Regions from separate parts of the Homo sapiens genome. Here regions 2 and 3 are each linked to region 1. Evidence: promoter capture Hi-C in 16 types of primary human blood cells and fetal thymus (Javierre and others, 2016). All regions are on one chromosome and are shown on one strand. The core of a region is centred on a gene start or on the middle of the fragment in contact, and the rest is flanking DNA. Distances in the headings are between cores, read along the strand shown.

Region 1 (3,620 bases), core at 516-3,015:
GCCCCGGCAGCCGAGGAAGAAGAGGTTCTTGAGCATGAAGATGGAGAGGGGCTGCTGGTAGCTGACCACCAGGAGGCAGCGCAGCGCCAGCAAGGGCACGTCCACCAGGCAGCCGCCCAGCAGGCGCAGAAGGCGGCTGCAGCTGCCAGGCCCGGAGGCCTGGCCCCAGGATGCAGCCGCTGCGGCCGCGGCGTTGAGCTCGTAGAGCCAGAGCACCGGCGAGGCGAGGGTGAGGAAGTAGACGGCGATAAGCAGGTAGCGCAGGTGCGCGGGCAGCGGCACGCGGCCCTCCAGCATCAGCTCCACCAGCGTGAAGCTGTCGAGCAGGTCCAAGCACGTGCCCAGGAAGCATCCGGCCGCGCGGTGCCGCTGGGGCTGCAGCAGCAGGGGTCCTGCCGATCCCGGGGGCGCGCCCGCCTCGCTGATGGCCCGCACCAAGCTGTAGAGCAGGGGCACCGACAGCGCCATGGTGAGACGGAAGCCCGTGGTGCCGAAGGGCGCGCGTAGCTCGATGAGGTCTAGGATGGACGTGCCCAGGATCAGCACCACCTTGGGAGTGAAGGCGATGGAGTAGATAAGCCAGGCCAGGTAGGCGAAGGCGAACTCGCCCGCTGCCGCGGCCGCCCCCAGGCCGCCCCCCGCGCCGCCGGCGCCCCCGCGGGCTCCGCGTGCCTTGGCCCCAGCGGTAGCGGCCGAGGGGGCGGGCAGATGCAGGGGCGGCGCGGCGTGGTGGTGGTGCAGGTGGTGGTTGTGCGCGCCGCTGGCTGCGCCGCCCCGACGGCCCCGGCTGTTCTTGGCGAAGAAGATGGCCCAGCCCACCACCACCACCAGGTCAGTGGCGATCCAGGAGCACCAGTACAGGTCGGTGACGGCGATGAGGTACAGGTCCAGCAGGCCGCCCTGCGCCAGCAGCAGCACCACGGACAGCGCCTGGTAGCCCCAGCGGCACCTGGGACTGGGGGCGCAGCCGCGGCGCCGACCTCTGCGGCCGGGGCGGTCTGGGCAGCCGCAGCAGCAGCAACACGGGCAGCAGGAGGCGCCGCTGCCGGTCCCGGTGCCGCCCGCGCCCCCCGCCGAGCGGCTCCCGGGGCCCCCGACGGCCCCGGCCGCGGCGCCCCCGCCGAAGTCCGCGGCTGTCATGCTGCAGGAGGAGGTGGGCGTGGAGGTGGAGGAGGAGGTGGCCGCTGAGGAGGAGAAGGCGACAGGCGCGGGGCCGGCGGGGGCGCCCACCTGAGCCGGCGGCCCCAGGAGCGCGGCGTTGGGCACCAGCGGCTTGCTGACGCTGAGGCTCTCGTCGTCGTCCTCGCGCTCGGCGCCCGTGCTGCTGCTCGGGGAGCCGCCGCCCCCGCCGCGTCTGCCGCCGCCTCCCCCGCGGCTGGTGCTGGTGCTGGTGCTGCTGTCGCCGGAGCCTCTCCGGCCGCGGAAGGAGCCCCCGCGGAGGAAGAGGGGCTGCAGCCGGGCGGCTGCCGGGGGCGGCGGGAAGGAACCGGACGCGGAGGAGACCGAGCGAGGGTGGCCGAGCGCCGGGCGCATTGTCCTCCGAGGGGCTCTGGGGCCGCCCAGCTGTTCCCTCCCCGCCAACCCCGGGCGGGCGAGGCGGGCTAGGCGGCCGAGGGGAGCCGGGGCCCGCCGCCTCCCCAGCAGTGGGGACTCGCACCTGGGCCGGGCGGCGGCGAGATCCGGACTGGAGCCACTGGACTGGGCGAGCCGGGCCGGGCGGCAGGGAGAGGGGGCAGGCGGTGAACCGAGCGGACCGCGGTGAAGACAGGCGAGGCGGGGGCGGGGCGGGGCGGGGCGGGGAGCGAGTCCCGCCGGGAGGGAGGGAGGCTGGCGGCGGGGAAACCAGGACTGGATTCGAGGGGGAGAGGAAGCAGCGAGACCAGAGGAGGAGAAAGCGCGGCGCGCTGGATCAACGGGAAGAGAAGGGGCGGGGGTGCAGTGCGTCACAGTCGGGTCGGGAGCCCTGTGGCCTGGAGGAAGCGGGAGGAGGCGCGGGCAGCCGCCAGGGCGAGGCGACCCGGTGCGGGGGGACTCCCATGGAGCGCGGACTCCTAAGGAAGTCGCTGGGAATCCCACCGGCTGTACCGCAGGGCGTTAGTACCTAGATGGCTTCGGTGCCCCCAAGCGATGGGCTCAAGCTACAGGGCGGGCTTTGCACCTGGCCTTCTCAGCTCTGAGGCAGGCAGTGGGCAGCTTCGCCTCCACCCTCCGTCCAGCGCCCTTCCCATGGGGCCATCCGCCTCTCCCTAAGGCACTAAAAACCAGTGGAGGAGTCAGGCCATGTTGGCAAAAAGGGCTCGGGCAGCAGCCCCAGACCTATAGTCCTAAATATCCATGTACCCAGCCCTGGGGTCGCGAGCCATCTCAGGGACGACCCGATTCCAGCGGATGGAGAAGTTCCCTGAAAACACCTGCCTGGGAGGAGAGACGAGGGAACGAGATTGGGCAAGTGGCATCCGCCCAGCGGGCTTCTCAAAGGTTTTTAAAGCAGAATGGGACGTAATAGGAAGATGTGTCTAGCAGAGAGTAAAATAAAGGGGCATTTAGAGGTGTGGGCACCTGGATGAAAACAAAGGCTCCAAAGGGATGATGGTGAGGGTTACAGCCCACCACAGTAGACAGAGACACCAAGGAAGGAATGCAGTCAGTGGCCCTGCGTAGACAGTCTCAGGAGAGAGCACACCAGCTCACCCCAGGACTCATCCAAGGCTGGGGATGGATGTCGATGCAGCAACTCTGGAAGGCAGAAGGTAGAGTGCTGCCTTTAGGGGTTTAAGGGAGAAGGAAATGACTAGAGCAGTTGGGGCTCAAAAACAATCTGAGGTTCACCAATAATGGAAACATCCCATTCCCAGCCCCATGAAAACAAGGCAGAAAGCTTGCCTGCCCTATTGGCCTCTGCACCCTTGTGGGGCCTGTGGGCTCCCTGATTTCATGACCTTTGAAGCTGCTGCTGCGGGCTCATCTCCCCTAGGTAACAGCTTGCAGCGTGATAACACCATGCAGTGTGAGGGAGCTGTATGCAGTGGAGCCGCAGGGGTTAGTCAGGCCTCGCCCCTAAATCTGCCTCTTAAATAAGAGTCCGTTTCAGCCAAACCTGCCTTTTCCAGTTCCGTGGAGGTCAGTCTGCACAGCCAATCCCTGGTAAATATACAATTTAGAACCTGCACCATCTCCACCTCCCCCACACACACCACTTTTGGAAAGCTGGCATGGTGGTGAGGGCAGGAGCTCTGGGGCCGCCATCCCACCTGTGCCACTTAACACCTTTGTGGTCTTAGCCTGAATATTTCACCTCAGAATGTTGATCTGTAAACAGGACCCCACCCCAGCCGGGCGCGGTGGCTCACGCCTGTAATCCCAGCACTTTGGGAGGCCGAGGCGGGCGGATCACCTGAGGTCGGGAGTTTGAGACCAGCCTGACCAACATGGAGAAACCCCATCTCCACTAAAAGTACAAAACTAGCCGGGCATGGTGATAATCCCAGCAATTTGGGAGGCAGAGGCGGGCAGATCACCTGAGGTCAGGAGTTTGAGACCAGCCTGGCCAACACAGTGAAACTCCGCCTCTACTAATAATACGAAAATTAGCCAGGGGTGGTGGCACGCACCTGTAATCC
Region 2 (3,620 bases), core at 550-3,049, 600 kb after region 1:
GAAGAAGCCAGGAATTGGAGAAACCCAATATGATTCCCAGATTTTTGGCTTAACTTACTGTTTTTTTTATATCATCCAAGTTGGATTGCAGGCTTTTAGGAGTCTTTGCATTGCTTCTTATGAAAGACAACGATTGAGGCCAGGCGTGGTGGCTCACACTTGTAATCCTAACACTTTGGTAGGCCAAAGCAGGCAGATTGCTTAAGATCAGGAATTTGAGACCAGCCTGGGCAACATGGCAAAACACTGTCTCTACAAAAAATGTAAAAATTAGCCAGTCATGATGGTGCATGCCTGTGGTCCTAGCTACTCTGAAGGCTGAAGTAGGAGGGTTGCTTGAGCCCTGGGGGCAGAGGTTGCAGTGAGCTGTGTTCTCGCCACAGCACTCTAGCCTGGGCAACAGAGAGAGACCCTGGCTCGAAAAGAAGAGAAGAGAAAAGAAAAGAACAGGAGGGGAGGGAAGGGGAAGATTGCTTATATTAGAGTAATACAGGGAGGGAGGGAGGGAAAAGAAGATTGCTTACATTAGAGTAATACCAGAAAATGTTGATGGAAGGGAAGAGATGTATTTAGATATTAGAAGATATATTTAGGAATAAATACATTGAGATATATTTAGTACTTAATGATTAAATAAAAGGAGGGGAAAATGATGAGATAGATGCTAGCCAAAATATTAGGTATGGGGTAAGACAGAAGTGATGTAGAGTTAGTACTTGTAGTTTATAGTCTTCAGTACGACAAGCATTCTCTTCTGGCTGGCTGTATTGCGTGAGTTCTGCAGTTGATGGATATATAGACTTTATGTACTGCATTTGGTTGTGAGGTACTCTTTGTTAGCATTCATTATTGATGATGGTCCCAGAAATGTGTAATGGTTTTACATTATGCCTATACTAATGAAAATGTAATGAGAGTTTGAAAGAGATGAAATCCCGTAAGATTATAGCAGTGACAGTCTGTTTTAGCCATGTGGGGTTTGAAGTCTGGGAAAGGAATCCATATGAGGAATGGCACTAATGGCAGAGATCTTTTTGAAGATTTTTAAAAATTATTAATTAGCATAGACTACTAGTTCCTCTCATAGACCTAGTTTTTAGGACACCTTGTTTATCTCCCTGTTTCCTTTAGTCTCAACCCAATTACAAGCACCTTGCAATTATATCAGTATCTAATTTTGTAGCAGTCTTATTTAAGAATTAAAAACGCGGTCAGGTGTGGTGGCTCATGCCTGTAATCCCAGCACTTTGGGAGGCTGAGGTGGGTGGATTACTTGAGATCAGGAGTTCAAGACTAGCCTGGGCAACATGGTGAAACCCCGTATCTACAAAAATACAACAGCCAGGCACAGTGGTGCATGCCTGTAATCCCAGCTACTTGGGAGGCTGAGGCAGAAGAATTGCCTGAACCCAGGAGGCCAAGGTTGCAGTGAGGCGAGATGGCACCACTACACTCCAGCCTGGGAGACAAAGCAAGGCTCTGTCTCAAAAAAAAAAAAAAAAAAAAAAAAGAATAAAAAATTCTCACAATCCAACATAAAAACACAACTCTATTTAAAAATGGGCAAAAGATTTGAATTACACGTCATTCTAAAGAAAATGTACAAATGGCCAATTAGCACATGAAAAGATGTTCAACATCATTATTTTCAGAAATGTTTTGGAATTCCAAAAATATTTGGAAATATTTTTCTAAATTTTTTGGAGAATAATTTGACGTAAAATTACCATATGATCTGGCAGTTTTACTCCTGCTGTATTCAAAATAATAAAAACATTCAAACAAAAACTAGTACATGGACATTTATAACAACACTATTCTAAAGAGTAGAATCAACCCAAATGTTCACCAGCTAATTAATAAGTAAAATGTCGTGCCTACCTACAATGAAATATTATTCTCAGCCATAAAGAAGAATGAAGTACGGCCGAGGCAGGTGGATCATGAGGTCAAGAGATCGAGACCATCCTGGCCAACTTGGTGAAACCCCATCTCTACTAAAAATACAAAAATTAGCTGGGCGTGGTGGTGGGCGCCTGTAATCCCAGCTACTCAGGAGGCTGAGGCAGGATAATCGCTGGAATCCGGGAGGCGGAGGTTGCAGTGAGCCGAGATCACGCCACTGCACTCCAGCCTGGCGAAAGAGTGAGACTCCATCTCAAAAAAAAAAAAAAAAAAAAAAAGAATGAAGTATGGATACATGCTACAACATGGGTGGGCCTTGAAAACATTATGCTAAGTGGAAGCAGCCAGATACAGAAGGCTATATTGCATGACTCCATTTCTACTTCTCAGAATAGGCAATCCGTAGAGATAGAACGTAGATTAGTGATTGCCAGGGGATGAAAAGGGGGAGAATGGAGAGTGACTACCAAAGGGTGTCTTTTTGGGATGATGGAAATTTTCTGGCAATTGTAATGTGGTTGCACAACACTATGAATATACTAAAAACCACTGAATGGTACACCTAGAAATGGTGGGTTTCATTTTCTTTCTTTCTTTCTTTCTTTCTTTCGTTAGAGACAGGGTCTCGTTCTGTCATTCAGGCTGCAGTGCAGTGGCACGATCATGGCTCACTGTAGCCTTGACCTCCCAGGCTCAAGTGATTCTCCCACCTCAGCCTCCTGAGTAGCTGAGTAGCTGGGACTACAGGTGTACATCACCAAGACCAGCTAATTTTTTAAATTTTTTAATTTTTCTTTTTTTGAGATGGAGTTTCACTCTTGTTGTCCAGGCCGGAGTGCACTGGCGCGATCTCGGCTCACCACAACCTCCACCTCCCAGGTTCAAGTGATTCTCCTGCCTCAGCCTTCCAAGTAGCTGGGATTACAGGCATGTGCCACCATGCCTGGCTAATTTTTTTGTATTTTTACATGTAGTAGAGATGGGGTTTCTCCATGTTGATCAGGCTGGTCTCGAACTCCTGACCTCAGGCGATCAGCCTGCCTCCGCCTCCCAAAGTGCTGGGATTACAGGCGTGAGCCACCGTGCCCGGCCTTAATTTTTTTTTTTTTTTTAGAGGCGGGATCTCACTGTGTTGCCCAGGTTGGTTTCAAATTCCTGGGCTGAAGTGATCCTCTCTCCTTTGCCTTCCAAAATGTTGGGATTATAGGTGTGAGCCACTGTGCCTGGCTATGAATTTTTATGTTATGTGAATTTTATGAATATGAATCTCAATACTAAAAGAATAAAAAGTTTTTAAAAATTGATAATAACAGGCCGGGCGCGGTGGCTCACGCCTGTATTCCCAGAACTTTAGGAGGCCGAGGCGGGTGGATCACGAGGTCAGGAGATCGAGACCATCCTGGCTAACATAGTAGAAACCCTGTCTCTACTAAAAATACAAAAAATTAGCCAGGCATGGTGGCGGGCGCCTGTAGTCCCAGCTACTCGGGGGGAGGCTGAGGCAGGAGAATGGCATGAACCCGGGAGGTGGAGCTTACAGTGAGCCGAGATCGTGCCACTGTACTCCAGCCTGGGGGACAGGGCGAGACTCCGTCTCAAAAAAAAAAAATATATATATATTTCCACGTGCCCCACGCCGCATTTCAGATGTGCGAAATTCAGACATTCAGGAGCCTCTTCACCTGATTCAAATTGTTCCACAGTTCCTGTGGGGA
Region 3 (3,620 bases), core at 557-3,056, 560 kb after region 1:
TAATTTAATGTGGCTTATGATGCATAATGGAAAAATCCAAATAGTAAATAAAAAAATCAGGAGTAGGAAAATTGTACATGTCTATAGTAGGAATAACAGATCATAGATAGGTAAGTAGTCTGTGAGATCCTCTACAATTATACTAGTGCTGAGCTGTGAATTTGGTTCTTGGGAAAGCCAAATACATACATACATACATATGTATACACACACACACACACATATATATACTATAAAACAGAGGGTATATTTAGTTCCAGGAATCTTTTACCCCTATAATTTAGAAGCTATACTAGTTCCTTTTGGTTGGAAAATAGTTTTTTAAAAGATTTCTTTTTTCCCACTAAGAGCTTTATAACATAGGACACAGAAATGCAGTAGAAAATGTTGTCAATATCGGCCAGACGCGGTGGCTCACTCCTGTAATCCCAGCACTTTGGGAGACCAGGGTGGGCAAATCATGAGGTCTACAATTCAAACCTTGTAGAAAAATGGATCCAATAGGTTATATTATCTGCAAGAAGTCTAAAACGTGTAGGTGTTCTGAGTTTCTGATTAAGGGGAGGTCAAGAGTAGAATGATAGATATTAAGTTAGAAATGTTTTTGTGGAATAGAGGGCTAACTTTTTTCAGCCTGGTTGTTATTTCTGTTTCTGTCATTGAAGTATGTTTGAAGGAGTGTTAGTAGCTACAAGAAGGATTGATTTCTCTTAAAAGCACGTTCATTCACTGTAGCTTATGACAGTGATTGATCAAAATTCTTACATTGTTGAGTATGACAGAGATTACCTTAGCCTGGAAAAAAATTGAAGGCAAGTCCATTAGAGGCAAGCCACCCTTGGAAACAGGTTGCAGAACATCTGGTATTCAGGAATACAGCTTTTTAGTAAAACTTCCCCAATCAATTTGTTGTGCAATGTCCAACAAATTTAAGCAACACATATTAAGCCATTCTCTCTAGCAGCAATTGAAGAGCAAGAATAACTGCCTGTCAAGATTTCTCCTAGTTTGTGTTAAAACAGCCTTATTTTATATTACATGGCATTATCTAAACTGACAGAGGTTGTCCTGCTATTCCTACCTTTCACAGTGTGGAAAGCAGGTTCTGTATAAGCATCTTTGATTAAAAATCTGTGATGAGCTAATTTCTGTTCACAGAGATAAGGGGCCAGGAAAGATAATTATCTAATAATACAATTTTAGAGCATGAAAAGAATTGGTGAGTGGGAGCACCTGTCGATTGGGCATTTATCTCATTACTCTTCACAACTACCCTTTGTGGTGGGTATTATTTTCCCATTTTATATAAGAGGAGAGACGGTGGCTCACGCCTGTAATCCCAGCACTTCGGGAGGCTGAGGCAGGCGGATCACTTCAGGTCAGGAGTTCGAGACCAGCCTGGCCAACATGGCAGAACCCTATCTCTACTAAAAACAAAAAAAAATAGGCAGGTGTGGTGGCACACGCCTGTACTCCCAGCTACTTGGGAGGCTGAGGTGGGAGAATTGCTTGAACCCAGGAGGTGGAGGTTGCAGTGAGCCGAGACTGCACCACTGCACTCCAGCCTGGGTGACAGAGCGAGACTCTGTCTCAATTAAAAAAATAATCATAAAGAGGAGAGGGTCAAGAAGATTATTTTCCTTGCCCAAGTGAAGAGTTAGAAGGCCTGACTCCAAAGCTTATCAACCACTTTACGGCTGTTTTCCAGGAAGCTGGAAGGGAAAGAGAGAATTTTATTGCAAGAAATAGCATGGGCCGTGAATTAATTTCTGAGCTTGTGTTTGATTTCACTTAATAATGTCATGATGTATTCTGGAGATCACTGTATCTTGTGCAGTTATATTAATCAGTGCTGTTGCAGAGCCATCTAACACTACAAATTACTTCTAAAGGGAAAACCTGTTATAATTATAAACAGTAATGGAGATTTAGTAGAAGCTTATCTGTAAAGGTAGACTTTTATGCTTTATGAGAATTTATAAAGATTAGGATAAATTGGCATAGGATCTTTCTAGGATAAATTGGCCTCAAATTTTTGCATAATAGATTGTTTTATGTAACATTTTCAAGTTTTTATGAATGTAGTTTATCAAAGTTATTTACTTAGGCAGAAGTAAGTGAAATGTCATTAAGCAAAGTATATGCTATTGGTGACATTGAGGAGATCCTTTGTGTTACATTTCAACTTTTAAGGATTCTGGCACTTAGGGAGGCAGAGGCAGGAGGATGGCTTGAGCCCAGGAGTTTGAGACCTGCCTAGGCAATATAGTGAGACCCTATTCTCAAAAAATAAAAAAATAAAAAAATAAAAGGATTTGAATTTTATTTTGGTTAGTCTCATCTCATAAGGAAAGTGTTTTATGTCGCTTAAAGCCATGTTATTTTTGTCAGCTTTAAAAGTAGAAAATGAATCAGAATCTGTGATACGTAAAAATGTTTAACCTTTTGTTTTTTAAAGGTATTTTAAATACCTGTGGATGATAGAATAATCAAGTTTCTTGACCTTAATAGAATTAATTAATTCAAAGCCCATCTGAGAATTTGGGATTCTTTAATTTGGTTGCAAAAAATGAAAACATAGGCAGAGCCTGGTGGCTCATGCCTGTAATCCCAGCGTGAGGGAGGCCAAGGTGGGCGGCCTGCTTGAGCCCAGGAATTTGAGACCAGCCTGGCCAACAAGGCAAAACTTTGTCTCTACCAAAAAAAAGAAAAACCCCACACAGCTGGGCGCGGTGGCTCACACCTGTAATCCCAGCACTTTGGGAGTCTGAGGCAGGTGGATCATGAGGTCAGGAGATCGAGACCATCCTGGCCAACATGGTGAAACCCTGTCTCTACCAAAAATACAAAAATTAGCTGGGTGTGGTGGTGTGCACCTGTAGTTCTAGCTACTCAGGAGGCTGAGGCAGGAGAATCACTTGAACCCAGGAGGCAGAGGTTGCAGTGAGGCGAGATCGCGCCATTGCATGATCTGGCGACAGAGCGAGACTCTGTCTCAAAAAAAAAACAAAAAAACCCCACAAAAATTAGCTGGGCATGGTGGTGTGTACCTGTAGTGCCAGCTACTTGAGAGGCTGAGGTGGGAAGATCGCTTGAGCCTAAGAGGTTGAGGCTCTTGTGAGCCATGATAGTGCCACTGCACTCCAGCCTGGGCAACAGGGTGAGACCCTGTCTAGAAACATAAAATATATAGAAGTGCTGAAGTGCAGTGGTGCAGTCATGGCTCACAGCAGCCTCGACCTCCCAGGCTCAAGTGATCTTCACACATCAGGCTCCCGAGTATCTTGGACGATGGGAACATGCCACTGTGCTCAGCTAGTTTTTTTTATTTTTCGTAGAAACAAGGTCTAGCTATGTTGCGCAGGCTGTTCTTGAACTCCTAAACTTAAACAATCCTTCTGCCTCGGCCTCCCAAAGTGCTGAGATTACAGGCATGAGCACCACACCCAACTGAAGTGAAGATTAAATAAGGGGACATGAAAGTCCCTGTCAGAAGACAGTATCACCGATATAGACAGCCTTTCTGCTCTCTGTTAACTATTTAATCATGTCAGAAATGTTTCTGAGATCTTTCATTCCTAGCCACCCAACCAGAAGATGACGAGAGCACAGCCTGGATT

Evidence for each region. Contacts are between HindIII fragments. The CHiCAGO score rates a contact against its expected background, and 5 or more counts as called.
Region 2: a contact is called between a fragment that was not itself captured here and the fragment with the promoter of TMEM121B in region 1, in 1 of 17 cell types (neutrophils). The highest score is 5.4, in neutrophils.
Region 3: a contact is called between a fragment that was not itself captured here and the fragment with the promoter of TMEM121B in region 1, in 1 of 17 cell types (monocytes). The highest score is 5.0, in monocytes.

The regions. Positions count from the first base shown.
Region 1 is chr22:17,119,595-17,123,214 of GRCh38, forward strand. It overlaps TMEM121B (transmembrane protein 121B), which reads right to left and starts at 1,766. Exons shown (of 1, transcript NM_031890.4): 1 at 1-1,766. The coding sequence starts at 1,533. LINC01664 (long intergenic non-protein coding RNA 1664) reads left to right here and starts at 2,001. Exons shown (of 4, transcript NR_103793.1): 1 at 2,001-2,445. RefSeq lists a silencer at 1,478-1,607 and an enhancer at 2,193-2,724. The HindIII fragment of the contact is 5,742 bases long and covers 1-2,876 here.
Region 2 is chr22:17,717,668-17,721,287 of GRCh38, forward strand. The region is part of intron 6 of BCL2L13 (BCL2 like 13); the gene reads left to right. Among named protein-coding and RNA genes, the nearest start is that of MIR3198-1, 45 kb to the right of the region's middle. The HindIII fragment of the contact is 3,886 bases long and covers 1-3,620 here.
Region 3 is chr22:17,674,871-17,678,490 of GRCh38, forward strand. All of the region lies in intron 2 of BCL2L13 (BCL2 like 13), which reads left to right. Among named protein-coding and RNA genes, the nearest start is that of BCL2L13, 38 kb to the left of the region's middle. The HindIII fragment of the contact is 260 bases long and covers 1,677-1,936 here.